Regions from separate parts of the Homo sapiens genome. Here region 1 is linked to region 2. The links are contacts of gene promoters, found by promoter capture Hi-C in blood cells and fetal thymus (Javierre and others, 2016). All regions are on one chromosome and are shown on one strand. Each heading gives the region's core, a stretch centred on a gene start or on the middle of the fragment in contact. The rest is flanking DNA. Distances are from core to core; before and after follow the strand shown. Region 1 holds the start of EFR3A (EFR3 homolog A). Region 2 holds the start of TAF2 (TATA-box binding protein associated factor 2).

The links. The method cuts DNA at HindIII sites, captures the fragments that hold promoters and counts their contacts. A CHiCAGO score of 5 or more calls a contact.
Region 1: a fragment that was not itself captured here is called in contact with the fragment with the promoter of TAF2 in region 2 in 1 of 17 cell types (naive CD4 T cells); the score reaches 6.1 in naive CD4 T cells.

Annotation. Positions count from the first base shown.
Region 1 is chr8:131,904,048-131,910,921 of GRCh38, reverse strand. EFR3A (EFR3 homolog A) reads right to left here and starts at 6,829. Exons shown (of 23, transcript NM_015137.6): 1 at 6,600-6,829. The coding sequence starts at 6,609. RefSeq lists an enhancer at 5,833-5,882 and a silencer at 6,453-6,874. The HindIII fragment of the contact is 200 bases long and covers 3,760-3,959 here.
Region 2 is chr8:119,827,821-119,835,047 of GRCh38, reverse strand. It overlaps TAF2 (TATA-box binding protein associated factor 2), which reads left to right and starts at 2,207. Exons shown (of 26, transcript NM_003184.4): 1 at 2,207-2,566; 2 at 3,317-3,371. The coding sequence starts at 2,484. DSCC1 (DNA replication and sister chromatid cohesion 1) reads left to right here. Exons shown (of 9, transcript NM_024094.3): 9 at 47-1,072. The coding sequence ends at 155. LOC105375728 (a long non-coding RNA gene) reads right to left here and starts at 2,169. Exons shown (of 4, transcript XR_928590.3): 1 at 1,972-2,169. RefSeq lists enhancers at 2,086-2,445, 2,506-2,555. The HindIII fragment of the contact is 3,868 bases long and covers 1-2,281 here.

The DNA.
Region 1 (6,874 bases), core at 2,610-5,109, about 12 Mb before region 2:
GTGCCCTTCTCTTTATTTCTGAGACTGTCTGGGACCCCTTTCCTTAAATGGTACCAATAAAAACCTCTCTACTCCCACTATAGGATGAAGATTCATTCACTGCAATCCATCCCACCACAACAGAAACACTGCATATGATAACTGGATCATTCCACACCAGAGTTGAGCCATGTAATGAGTAAAATGTGGTTTCATCCTAAAAATCAGTATCTTATTTGACCCATGAAAAAAAGGGCCTCTGCCCTGCGAAACACAGAGGACTGTCTCTCCTTTTACAGAGGTGTGTGTGGGTGGGAAAGTGCATGGAGTAGTGATAACTGAAAATCACTGCCCTAGAAAACCAGAGAAAGACTGGGCACAGTGGCTCACGCCTGTAATTCCAGCCCTTTGCGAGGCCGAGGCAGGCAGATTGCCTGAGCTTGGGAGTTCAAGACCATGCTGGGCAACATGGTGAAACCCCATCTCTACTCAAATACAAAACAATTAGCCAGGCGTGGTGGCGCACACCTGTAGTCCCAGCTACTCGGGAGGCCGAGGCAGGAGAATAGCTTGAGTCCAGGAGGTGGAGGTTGCAGTGAGCCGAGATCACACCACTGCACTCCAGCTTGGGCTACAGAGTGAGACTCCATCTCAAATTACCAGAGAAAGATGGCTGCAGCTGTTTTTGCTTCAAGTTCCCCATTCCATGTCACCTAGAGTCAGAGTCTAAGCAGAATGAGTTCCCCAAAAAGCTAGGCTTCCACCTTCTATCTGTCCAGCTACTCGGCTAGTATAGTTCTGGGAGATGCTTGGAACTATCTATCTAGAAATCCTGAGATGGAAAAGTACAGTATCAAAGGAGGGGAACCTGCCCACCCTGGCTCCCTGAAGGAAACTGACAGTCAATCCCAGGCCAGGGTCCTACTGACTGGATCAAGCCTGCAAGCTACTTGGACCTCTGCACTGAGACGGCAATGCCTAGGGAGCAGGCTGGGGACCCTGCATGGGAAAGCAGGCCAGGCTGCGGGCATAGTATGGTCTATAACATTTAAATATTTAGGCCAGTGGTTCTCAACCAGGGACAATTTTGTCCCCCAGAGAACATTTGGCAATATCTAGAGACACTTTTGGTTGACAGAAGCTTGGGGCAGGAGGGTTACTCCTGGCTTCCAGTTCGTAGAGGCCAAGGATGATGTTTAATGTCCTATAGTGCATAGGACAGCCCCTGTTACCCCTAAACCTGTCCCAGACATCAATAGTGTAAAGACTGAAAATCCCTGATTTAAACTATGATTTGCAGACCTCCATTTGTATTCTTGTCTCAGACCTCAAATGTGGTACAGACAGGCCTGCAAAGAACACAATCATAAACTAAATATATATATATTTTCCTTTTTAGAGATAGGTCTTACTCTGTTGCCCAGGCTGGAGTATAGTAGTGAGACCATAGCTCACTGCAGCCTCAGCCTCCTGGGCTCAAACAATCCTCCTGCCTCAGCCTCCAAGTAGCTAGGACTATAGGCATGTACCAACACACCTGGCTAATTTTTAATTTTTCTGTAGAGGCGGGGTCTATGTTGCCCAGGCTGGTCTAGAACTCTCAGCCAAAAGCGATCCTCTCTTCTTGGCCTCCCAAAGTGCTGGGGTTACAGATGTGAGCCACTGCACCTGGCCAAATTATAAAACTTTTATAACACTATCTTTATGGGAAAAAAAAGTTCCGGTTATGGTATCCAAAGAATAACTTATCTGACTCCAGTTACAATTCAATCTATTCTGCATATAGGCCAGAAGCATGTGGGGGAGCAAGGCGGATGAAGAGAGGTTGGTTAATAGGTAAATCATACAGTTAGACGGAGTAAGTTCTAATGTCTGATAACAGAGTAGGATGACTATAGTTAATAACAATGTACTGTATATTTCAAAGTAGCTAGAAGAGAGGATTTGAAATGTTCCCAACACATGGAAATGATAAACACTCAAAGTGATGGATACTCTAAATACCCTGACCTGATTGTTACACACTGTATGAATCTAACAAAATATCACATGTACCCTACTCCATAAATGTGAAAATATTATGTATCAATTTAAAAATTTTGTAAAGATTCAATTTTTAATTTATTTGGCATTTACCAAGCACCTATTATATAACCAGGCACAGTGCTAAGCAAAAGTGACAGTGTAAAACTGATGGGATCCTGTTCAACTCCTGCCTGGCTCAGAGCACTATAGTATGAAAAAAGAGCTGGGACTTAAGAGGTCAGACCCATCTAGTTGCAATAACAGCTCTATTACTTACTGTCATTAGGAATGTTACTTAACTTTTCTGAACTTCAATCTCTCTATCTTCTAAAACAGGTCAAATAGGGCCTCCCTCAAAGTGGAAGAGTTAAAGAAGATAATTCAGGTAAAGCACAAAGTATACTGCCTACCACACAATCAGTATTCAATAATTACTTCCTATTACTAATAGCAAACTGTAAGTCTTCATAAAGTAATCAGTAAGTTGGAAACTGCTACTAAGCCTATAAAAAAGCCACCGTAACTGTTGATTGCGAGAGCATATAAAACCCCTCAAATGGCCGGGAGCGGTGGCTCACACCTGTAATCCCAGCACTTTGGGAGGCCGAGACGGGTGGATCACGAGGTCAGGAGATTGAGACCATCCTGGCTAACACGGTGAAATCCCATCTCTACTAAAAATACAAAAAATTAGCCGGGCGTGGTGGCACATGCCTGTAGTCCCAGCTACTAGGGAGGCTGAGACAGGAGAACTGCTTGAACCCGGGATTTGGAGGTTGCAGTGAACAGAGATCTCACCACTGCACTCCAGCCTGGGCGACAGAGCGAGACTCCCTCTCAAAAAAAGAAAAAAAAAAAAACCTCAAATTCTGGCTTTCTCTTTCTCCAGCATTATCTCCTACCACCTACATAATCATTAATGTAGCCCCATGTCCCCACAAGTGGGGACAGACTGAAAGATGAGATCTGGGCAGCAAACAGGGCAGTGTCAAGCCAAAGGTCACTGCAAAAAAGAAAATTCATCAGCTACAACTCTGGCAGGACACATAGGTGGTGGGTAGAAGAAGGGAGGAAGGAGGGAGATGGGAGGGGAGGGGAGAAGGAAGCAAAGGGACAATGAGGAAAGGGGGGAAGAGGGGAAAAGGGGAGAGAAAGAATGAGAATATGAATGAACACAAAAGGCTAATAATCCAGTAATATGAAAGTGTAGGTCAAGTTTGCATGTAATGTGTCTCTAAAAGGAAAACACTTCAATCAGCAACCCTCTTTTATAATTCATTCTGCATTTCTTTCATAAAAATAAATTAAAAAATAAGTTAAATGTAATTAGCCTCATCAAAAGAAAAACAAACATGGAGTAACCATATTATTATTACAGCCTAAGAAATTTGCCTAGACCTCAACGTCAGTACCTAAATGAGAAAAGAAAGCATTCAACACACATAATTACTCAAAGTATAGTTTAACAGCAAACAATATTTGAGAGTTTTGGTTTTCCCTAGAAAATATAGAATAACTTTTCATATAAAATAAAAGAGCACATTTTACCGGACCTGTTTTGAGGCAAGTTATCTGTGAACTCAGGAGCCATTTTCACATAAGGAGTTTACTAAAAGTTTAAGTTTGTGTCTATATAAACAAGAATCTACTTAGCACACCAGTGATATCCACAGCTTTTCCAAAGATTTCTGTGACAGGATGGAAGCAAATGCATTCTTGTAAGTTCACAGAACGATTTAAATTTTTGACCAAGCTTACATTTGTCTTAATGTAACTCAAGGGGAAAAAAAGGCTAAACTATTATCAATTTAGTGCTAGAGAAAAATTAATGTTACTATGCTCACTGTGGTTACTGATTATAGGGGCCAGTTCTGTGTTCAAGTCATGGTTTTACTCCATGGAAACTCTCAGAAGGCTCAGCTTCCCGATACACAACATAAAATGATGAAGAAGCTTTAACAGTCGTTCCAACTCAAACTCCGATTCAGAGTTTGAAAATCTTTCAAATAAAACGCTTCTTAATGGTCCTTTGAATGGAGAATGAAATAAAGGCCTCTAGAAAAATGATGTGTCAAATTATAGGTTTACAGGTTTGCAACAGCATTCAGCAGCATAGTCTTGAAATCTGTGCCTAAGGATTGTTTCAGACTACAGGCTTGTAACACGACCACAAAATTGTTTCTGTGTCCTGGCAGTTTCCTGTCAGGCATCCTTCCAGGTGGTTGCTTTCTCAAAGAGTCTACGGATCTCCAAAATAATTCTAGTGAAGTGGCTGTTAATATTCATGAGATATATCATTGCTTAACCAGTGGGGTTACTGCATGCTTCACTGGATTCTAGTTATTAACAACAGTTTCAATGAGTACCAATATTCCAAATAAGCAACAAAATAGCAAGAGTAGAATAATTCTATGACTTACAGCAAGGGTTGCTCTCGGAATTGTAGAGTCTGAGAGACCACAGTGATCACCTCCAACCCTTTGATTTTAATTAAAACTCGTACGGATTAACTGGCTTGGGCTTATCACTAAGCCTCTCAACCATTTAACATTAAAACAACCAATCAAACAAAAACACTTAGCTTATCTGAGCACAGTTTTCCTCCTAAGAGCTGTGAACTTCCTCCTAAATTCCTACAGAGAATAACAATTTTGCCATCTCTGTGTTGGATATATATTCTACAAACAGAATTTCAAAGAAATATTGTTGTCCACTGCACTATCCCAGCAATTTCGGCAGCTGTGACTGCCAAAGGAGAGAAAAGGCAAATATGAACACTATTCACCTCACACTGGTACCCCCAATCAATCCACAGCACATTTTTATTCAGTCATAAAAAATGTACCATGACAAATATTAACAATGACAGATAAAACAAACATTTCACTTGTCTTCCAGTCAGGGTGTGAAATCTGCATTCTTAACTATGTAAACTCCACCATGGCCCATCCTAAAATCATTTTGCAGAATGAACTCAACATTTGAAAAGAAACGAGTTTACTATATCCACTCTGTGAAGCTAGATAACCCTAGAACATAACTAAAAATTTTATTTCACAGGATAATTCTGGCATGTTACCAATAAATTCTACTTGAAGCCTCAACTTTCAATAGGTGCTTACCTCCTCCCCTTTGGTTTCTCAGAAAATAAAAGATTAGCATAGTGCTAGTCTCAGATATTCACTGAATAACGTGAACATGAATTTAGAAGTACTAAACTGGCAATAACAATGAAGATGATTGTAAATGATATTCCTCCAGCCAAAAGGAATAAAACAGAAATTTAAACTGGACATATTTACTGGATGCGAAGTCCAAGAACGTGAGTTAAGGACACACAGTAGTGTGTGAAGAAAACAAAATCCACAGTACCCACACATGTATGAGGAGTTAAAAGTAATCTCTACATCAGGACTATGTAAAGATTTGCCACAGGAAAATCTTTAAATCTCAAAAAGATATTTAAATATCTTTAATATCAATTTAAATTTAATATCCTTAAATATCAGGAAAATATCAATCTTTATAATATCAAGAAATAACTCATCTTTTCCCACCACTAGACGAAACGTGCATTGGAGACTGACCTGGAAATTCAGCGTCCCAGATGGCTACAAAACAAGGACAACTAGAAGTAGTTATGAATTCTAGGAAATATATTCACAAGTGTGTAAAGATTCTATAGTATTGAACACTTAGTCAAAGGAGTCCTACTTGAATTCTCAAATCAATGACAAAGTTGCTTCCTCTCTACCCAAGATCAGGAGCTTCCCTAGTTTGCACATATCCACATTGACCAGTGGCTATAAAGTCACACTGCGATTATCTGGGTCATTTTAAAATAGGTCATTAGCAGTACTTGTAGTATCGCGTCTGTCTAAAAATCCTCCAACACCGAGTGACTTTTAAACTTTGGGGTGCCTTGGTAACCCCAGGGACGCTTATTAGACATGCAGACTCCGGGGCCCAAGCTCCAGACTAATTCCATGGGAATAGGGCGGGTCCCGAAACCGGCATTTTTAATCATCTGCCCGGGTGAATCCGAAGTGTGGTCCAAAAGCCACAGTCGAGGTGCCTCTGCCTAACAAGCTCCACAGAAAGCTCCGACTTCAGCCGCCCCGACGGCGATACGGACGCCGAGTTAGGCTGTCGGGGGTCTGTCTGGCGGCCGCGGGAAGGGACTCGGGGCCGGCGCGTCCACTAGCGACGTCCGGCCCGAGGTGAGAAGGGACTGACAATGGTACCGCAGTTATTTTCAATATTTCCATAAAGTCCCACGAAGCCGTGTGGCCGTGGGAAAAGGGCTTTAACTTTGAAATCCCACGGGTCAGGTTACCACCAGCTCTGCCGCCTCCTAACAGCGCGTCCCCGCAGTTCCCTTAACGTTCGGGCCTCAGTTTCCCGATCCGTGCAACGGGCTCACGCCATCTCCGGAAGGCTAAGCCGAAACGAAACTAACTCCGCCGCTCGCAGACACTTCCTGGCTCTGCTCAGCGCGGCCCAGCCTCCCCAGCCGCCCGGGAGGAGTACCCGGCCCAAGCGCGTCGCGCAGGCAGTCGCCTCCCAACGCCCCCGGCCCTCGGCCGGCCACTCACGGGTAGGCATGGCGATCTCGACCGCGCTCGCCGCCGCACCGAGGCTCAGCGGGGCCGCGCAGGGAGCGCCGACGGCACCATGACGGCCGTTGCTGGGCCGCGGAGGCCGGAACGAGGCGAAGGGCGAAGGGCGAAGGGTGGAGGGAGCGGACGCGGACCCCGCGGTCACGCAACCAAGCGGGCGACAGCTACCGCCGCCAGCCCACTCCTCGCCGGGCGGCGCGACGGACGACCCACGCCCGTTACGTCAGCGCGCCGCCGCCGTCCCGGCCCCG
Region 2 (7,227 bases), core at 958-3,457:
TGTTCCCTAAAATATTCATGTTATATATTTTTTATTGTTCCTACAGAGATTTGTGTGGAGAGAAGCAAACCATAGGTGCATTACTCACTAAATATTCTCATTCTTCGATGCAAAATGGTGTTAAAGTTTATAATTCGAGAAGACCCATTTCTTAAAAGAACAACGGTCTTTTCTTCAGGACTCAAGTTGCTTTATAAAGTTGCTGGATAGAAGAAAAATAACTTGTACTTTTATTTCTGACTTTTAGAAACCTAGTCTTCTAAGGCATTTTTCTCCTCATCTTAAGCATTTTGAAACTACTGTTATTTCTTAAATGTTATAGGATGTAGCTTTAAAATTATATTTGTACTATGTACACAGTGTAAACAAGGACAAAAGAATTCTTTCCTATATTATGTCTGAGGTCTCTATGATTTATTTAAAGTTTGGCTTTTTATATTTAAAATGTCATTTCTTTACTTAGGATTTGATGTTCTAATCATTAATACACTTAAGTTTTCCAGAGAACTAAATAGTAATAGTTTCATAGAAGAGAACTATTTATTCACTTAAATATCATTTCTCAAGTGAGTGAGTTCCCCTCTACTTTTAGCCTTCCACCCAAACTGGAAGCCTCTAGGTGCTATCAATTATTTATATCCATCGTTTACATCCATGAAATTGGCTGAATAATTACTCCTCTGCCTGGCGTAGACATGCGCTTTGGGAAAAAAACGAGTTTATAATCCTATAATGAAGAATACTGGCACAGGCAATGCTCACTCGAAAACTTCAAGTAATTTCTAGTTGGTTTTGGAATGCTTGATAAAGTTCCTTTACAGCTTTATTTTCCTGATTTGTTTTGGTTTAGATCAAAGTTCAAATTAATTTTAACTTAGCTAATGAACTCATCACCAGGACAGTTGGAGGGGGTAGGCCGAGGTTAAATGGTCCACGTTTCAAAAATGTTAATGGCTAATCCATAATTAAAGAAGGTTTAACTGTTACTGAAGTTTACAAGTTTTATTGTCATGAACATGAAATACAAACACGATGGCTTCGAAATGTCTTTCAATAAATGTTTCTGCATTTATATGGATTATATGATATATATACACAGTCTATATATCTCTATGTAGTCTATTTATTTATTTTGAGAGGGAGTCTCGCTTTGTCTCCCAGACTGGAGTGCAATGGCATGATCTCAGCTCACTGCAAACTCGGCTTCCCGAGTTCAGGTGATTCTGGTGCCTCACCCTCCCGAGTGGCTGGGAATACAGGCGCACGCCACGACGCAGGGCTAATTTTTGTATTTTTACTAGAGACGGGCTTTCACCATGTTGGCCAGGCTGGTCTTGAACTGCTGACCTCAAGTGATATGACTGCCTCAGTTTCCCTAAGTGCTAGGATTACAGGCGTGAGCCACCACGCCTGGCCTGTAGTCTATATTTTATTCTTTTTTTTTTTTTCTGAGACAGTCTCAGCTCTGTCGCCCAGGCTGGAGTGCAGTGGAACGATCTCAGCTCGCTGCAACTTCCGTCTCCCAGGTTCAAGCAATTCTCCTGCCCCAGCCTCCCAAGTAGCTGGGATTACAGGCGTGCACCACCACGCCCAGCTAATTTTGTGTAATTTTTAGTAGAGACGGGGTTTCACCATGTTGGTCAGGCTGGTCTCGAACTCCTGACCTCAAATGATCGGCCCGCCTCGGCCTCCCAAAGTGTTGGGATTACAGGAGTGAGCCACTGCGCCCGGCCTTGTAATCTATATTTTAAAATAAATACTAAGGCAGCAGTGCCTAGTGAGAGCTGTGGAGTGCTGCAGTTTTGACATTTAGACTACCTGCAGTCTAATCACATATTTTACAGCTTAAATCACCGGACCCAGTGTGTCTGTTCACACAGCAAGCCAGAGGCACGCACCTCCTGATTTCGGGAGACTTCCCACCACCCCACCCCGCCCAGTTACTAGCACCCTGCCCCAGCCTATTTATACCTGGCTCTTCGCAAACTTTGTCCTCCATTCTTCTCAATATGCTTGTACTAGAAAACTACCTTCCCTCCTTTTCTTCCTGCTGTTCTCGCTTCATCCATTAAATAGTTTTTTCCCTATCCTAAATTTTAACAATTCTTTACGATAAGACACATGCGAAGATCGCAAGCCCTGCCCATTGACAAGACTTCCTGGTTCTACCCCCGCCGCCGTTCCACTTCCGCTGACGTCGGAGGTCAGAGGTTACAGACAAGATGTCGGCGGATGGTAGCTTCGAGCCCTTGCGGAGAGGAGCATCTCTGTGACAGAAGCTTGTCGACGGCGGCTTCTAGGAGCTAGTCGAAGGAGCGAGGTTGAGGCGGGCAGCGACCCGTCAGGTCGCTCACCTGGGCACCGGCCAGCTGCGAGACGTGACTTGGGGACCGCAGGGGAGTGGAGAGTGTGAGGTGCCAAAGACTAGTAATGCCCCGTATCCCCCTAGGAAGCCGGGAAGCCAAGCTCCGCGGGACCGCTTCATGCCGCTGACTGGTGTAGAGCCCGCCAGAATGAACAGGAAGAAAGGAGACAAGGGCTTTGAAAGCCCAAGGCCATATAAATTATAAGTATTTTTTCATTTCCCTTCCTTCCTTTTGGTTTTGTTGCCATTAATTATATTTTGCGATTGCTTGAAATTGACTTGGTGGGCCTGGGAAACCTAGTGGGAAACTAGAATTTACTCACTGTGATGGAAATGGTGTTTGTAAGGTAAAAATGTTTTGAATGACAGGTTATTCAGCAAATTTAATTCCCGTTGCAAGTTACTAAAGTTTTTGTCTAAGTACTAGATTGTATTTCTGTCAAATCTGTTTTCGTGACTGTTGCTAGATTTTAAAAAATTATCCCAATTGGTAGAGTGTTTTTTTTTTTTTAATTTTTTAATTTTTAAGACGGAGTCTCTCAGTCGCCCAGGCTGGAGTGCAACGGCGCGATCTCGGCTCACTGCAGCCTCCACCTGCCGGGTTCAAGCTTTTCTCCTGGCTCAGCCTCCTGAGTAGCCGGGATTACAGGCGTGTGCCACGATGCCCGGCTAACTTTTGTATTTTTAGTAGAGACTCGGTTTCACTCTGTTGGCCAGGCTGGTCTCGAACTCTTGACCTCGTGATCCGCTTGCCGTGGCCTCCCAAAGTGCTGGGATTACAGGCGTGAGCCACCGCACCAGGCCCCAATTCGTAGTTTTAAAATGAAATATTGACATGTAATTTTGAATTACTTAGAACATAGTCCTAATTTATACTTGGATAGAATTATACTTTGATTTAATAATAAAAATTATTTTTTCCTTATTTTCTTTTTATATTTATTAATATACAACCCATCAGGTCGTCTGCATCAACAACATAAATTTCCAGAGAAAATCTGTTGTGGTAAGTTTATTCTCAACAATTATAAATAGTAACAAGTCCACTATAAAGAGTAACAATCCACCCCTCACAGTACTTAGAAAGTTTGTAGTCTTCCAGATAATTGTGTTTCAAGAATAGGTAAGAATTAAAATTAGGGTCTGTATGATTACAAGTTCCATGGTCCTTCTATTAATACCTATTGCCTCCCAAATTCTCCCTTTCCTTTTTTTTCAATTTCCTAATTAAAATTTTATTCCTCTTTATCTGGTGTATAATATGAAAGCCTGTATAGCCAAGCATTTTATAATTGTGCATGAAACAAGTATAAGCCCATAGCGACATTTCTTCTATGAAAAAAATTAAGATTAATACACTCACTGACTTGGCTTCTAAGAGGCCATTTTTGCTTCTTGACTGACTTGGTTTAGGTGATGTTGCTTTGTAATGAAGTTTTAGATAGAGTATTTGAGATCTAGAAACCCTCTACCTCCCCCTGCCTCCCGACACAATTTAGATGTATGGATTGCTGATATAATCAATTTTAGGAAAAAGCTTGAACATTCAAGTTTTTTGTTTGTTTGTTTGTTTTTGGAGACAGAGTCTCGCTCTGTCACTGAGGCTGGAGTGCAGTGCTGTGATCTTGGCTCACTGCAACCTCCACCTCCTGGGTTCAAGCAGTTGTCCTACCTCAGCCTCCCAAGTAGCTTGAATTACAGGTGTGCATGACCACGCCCAGCTTATTTGTGTATTTTTAATGGAGTCAGAGTTTTCTCCATGTTGGCCAGGCTGGTCTCGAACTCCTGACCTCAAGTGATTCACCTGCCTCTGCCTCCCAAAATGCTGGGATTACAGGCATGAACCACTGCACCTGGCTGAAAACTCAAGTATTTATTTAATTTACTTTCTTAGGGCTACCTTTATTACATAGGCTAAAATGTTAATGAGAGCTGGTTTTCCTTGAGTGATGGTATCAACTTCTCTGTCAGATTTGTTACCCATGTATGTATATATTTACTTAGGATAAGCTGAATAGATAGAAAAATGTCGCTTTTCATGAGTCATAGAATCTTAGATTTGTAATGTTCCTAAAAGATTTATTAAATTTAGTCTCCTCGTTTATGGAATTTCTCATGCAGTCTTCCCTAGGTTATGTACCTTATATCTTATATAGTAGGATACTTGAGTTGTATTATGTTGTATGAATTGGGTAGGAAAGATAAGGGAATTAGGGAGTCTAGTTCAGAGGTTACTGCGGTAATCTAGGGGAGAAATGGTGAAGTCCTAAATGAAGATAGCATTAGTGAAAATGGAATTGAAATAGAGTTGACATGATTGAATTAGTGAACATATATTTAGCCATTAATATATGTAAGATATCTTCTAAGGTTTATGTGTATTAACTCACTTAATCTTCATAATTACCCTGTGAGATAGATAATATTTTAATCCTAATATTAGAATTAAGGCATGATTGAGGCAGCTAAAAGAATGGAGGTTCAGGGCCAGGCACGGTGGCTCACACCTGTAGTCCCAGCACTTTGGGAGGCTGAGGCGGGTGGATCATGAGGTCAGGAGATCGAAACCATCCTGGCTAACACGGTGAAACCCTGTCTCTACTAAAAATACAAAAAATTAGCCGGCTGTGGTGGTGGGTGCCTGTGGTCCCAGCTACTCGGGAGGCTGAGGCAGGAGAATGGCATGAACCTGGGAGGCGAACTTGCAGGGAGCCGAGATCGCGCCGAACCTGGGAGGCGAACTTGCAGGGAGCCGAGATCGCGCCACTGCACTCCAGCCTGGGCGACGGAGCAAGACTCCGTCTCAAAAAAAAAAAAAAAAACTAAAAAAAGAATGGAGGTTAAGTAACTTTCTTAAGGGCATAAAGTTGGCAAATGATGAAACCCTTTTTAATCACTGATGACCTAAGAGTTTGATGCACTTTTTACGTCTTTCATTCCCCCTTCCACCTGTGTTGTCCCTGAGGAATCAATAGAAGTTGCATGTGGCTTTTTCAAGACTGCTATAAAGGGGTTGTGGATGACTTAAGTTTCCCATTGGAAACTTTGATTGGATGTTGTATGGGTTAGGATCTTGGTAGGAAGTAAATGGCAGATATACATATATGTATGTGTATATATATATACACATACATATATATACACACACACTCACACACACACACAAGTTAATTGAGGGAAATGAAGGGAGTATTTAGAACAGAGTTAACAGAAACCAACATGAGGTGGAGGAACCCTCTGAGCTATCAACAGTGAGGAACAGTTGTCTAGGCCTGAAACAACAACGGGAAGGGGAAGTTACTAGAACCTACTGTAGCCATGGAATGGGTCACCTTGTAGGACCTGTGTCTTTTAATAGAAGAATGAAGCTACTGCTTACCTGCAGCCTGGCGGAAAGGAATCTGGGGTAATTAATATAAACTTGCTTTCCTTCTGTTTTCCAGTTTCCTTTTTGTGGAAACTGTTGGACCAACCCAGCCAGAAGGGTAGAGCCCAGTTAATGCAACTCGTAGGGTATTGAGTAGGGTAGAGAGCAGATCAGGAGGGGCAAAATGAGAATAATCAGAACAGTCTACCTTTTTAACCCCAACGCATCCACTGTTGTCTTTGGTTGAGATGAAAAGCTAGTGCTCCTAACATGGGGAACTTACAAAGTCCTATGAGCCACTGAAAGAGTTGGTAATGGCTGACTACTTGTTTTTTAAGTGAAATGTTACTTGAACACAGCCATCCCCATTTATTTACATATTGACTGTGGAGGTTTTGGAGCTACGCTGGCAGAGGCGAGTAGCTGAGACAGAGACTGTGTGACCCACAAAGCCTGAAATATTTCTATCTGGCCCTTTAAGAGACAGTTTGCTAATCCCTGAGCTATTCTGTTAGTGTGAGAGATGACAGTTCAGCCCTGTTCCCACCTAAAATATTAGCTACCTCTAGTGTCTTTTATGCAAGATAGTGGAAAGAAAAGTGGTTGAAAGAAATAGTATAAAACTAAATTGTAACAGTCCCTGCTTCCCTTAGCTGGTAGTATGGCCGAAGTTGATACATACTGCTTTATTTCTTCACCCCTTCGGTGTTTCCTTTTCCTTCTGCTGACATTTCTATTGGGATGACCTAGACCCTTGTTTCTTTAGGACCTTCACTGCTGTTTATATCTTTATTGGGTTGTTGCAGTTTCTGTTGCCTAGGACTGTTAGGGGGGATCTGAGAGGCATCTGAGGGAATCCTCTAGATTTCAGATGTGATTCTTGTCCTTATTGTATAGCAAAGCTTTAATTTTCTGTTCAGTAATTGAAATGATTCATTCCAGCCAGAACAGGACCCCTTTCTCTGCTTTTTGGTTCTTTGGGATGAGGAGCTCAAGGTGGTCAAGGGGCAGCCTCAACTTCCAATGGAATGGAATCATGGTTATGTGCCCTGGTGGATGCATTCTTCACTTAGGCACTAGGACCTCTCAACATGCTGAACCCAGGGTCACAGAGACAGGAGGCAAAAATTCCTTCCATGGCTGGGCACGGTGGCTAACACCTGTGATCCCAGCACTTTGGGAGGCCAAGGCGGATGGATCACCTGAGGTCAGGAGTTCAAGACCTGTCTGGCCAACATGGTGAAACCCTGTCTCTACTAAAAATACAAGAATTGGCCAGGCGCAGTGGCTCACGCTTGTAATCCCAGCACTTTGGGAGGCCGAGGTGGGCAGATCACGAGGTCAGGAGTTTGAGACCAACCTGGCCAACACAGTGAAACCCTATCTCTACTAAAAATACAAAAAATTAGCTGAGCATGGTGGCGGGCACCCGTAATCCCAGCTACTTGGGAGGCTGAGGCAGGAGAATCACTTGAACACGGGAGGCAGAGGTTGC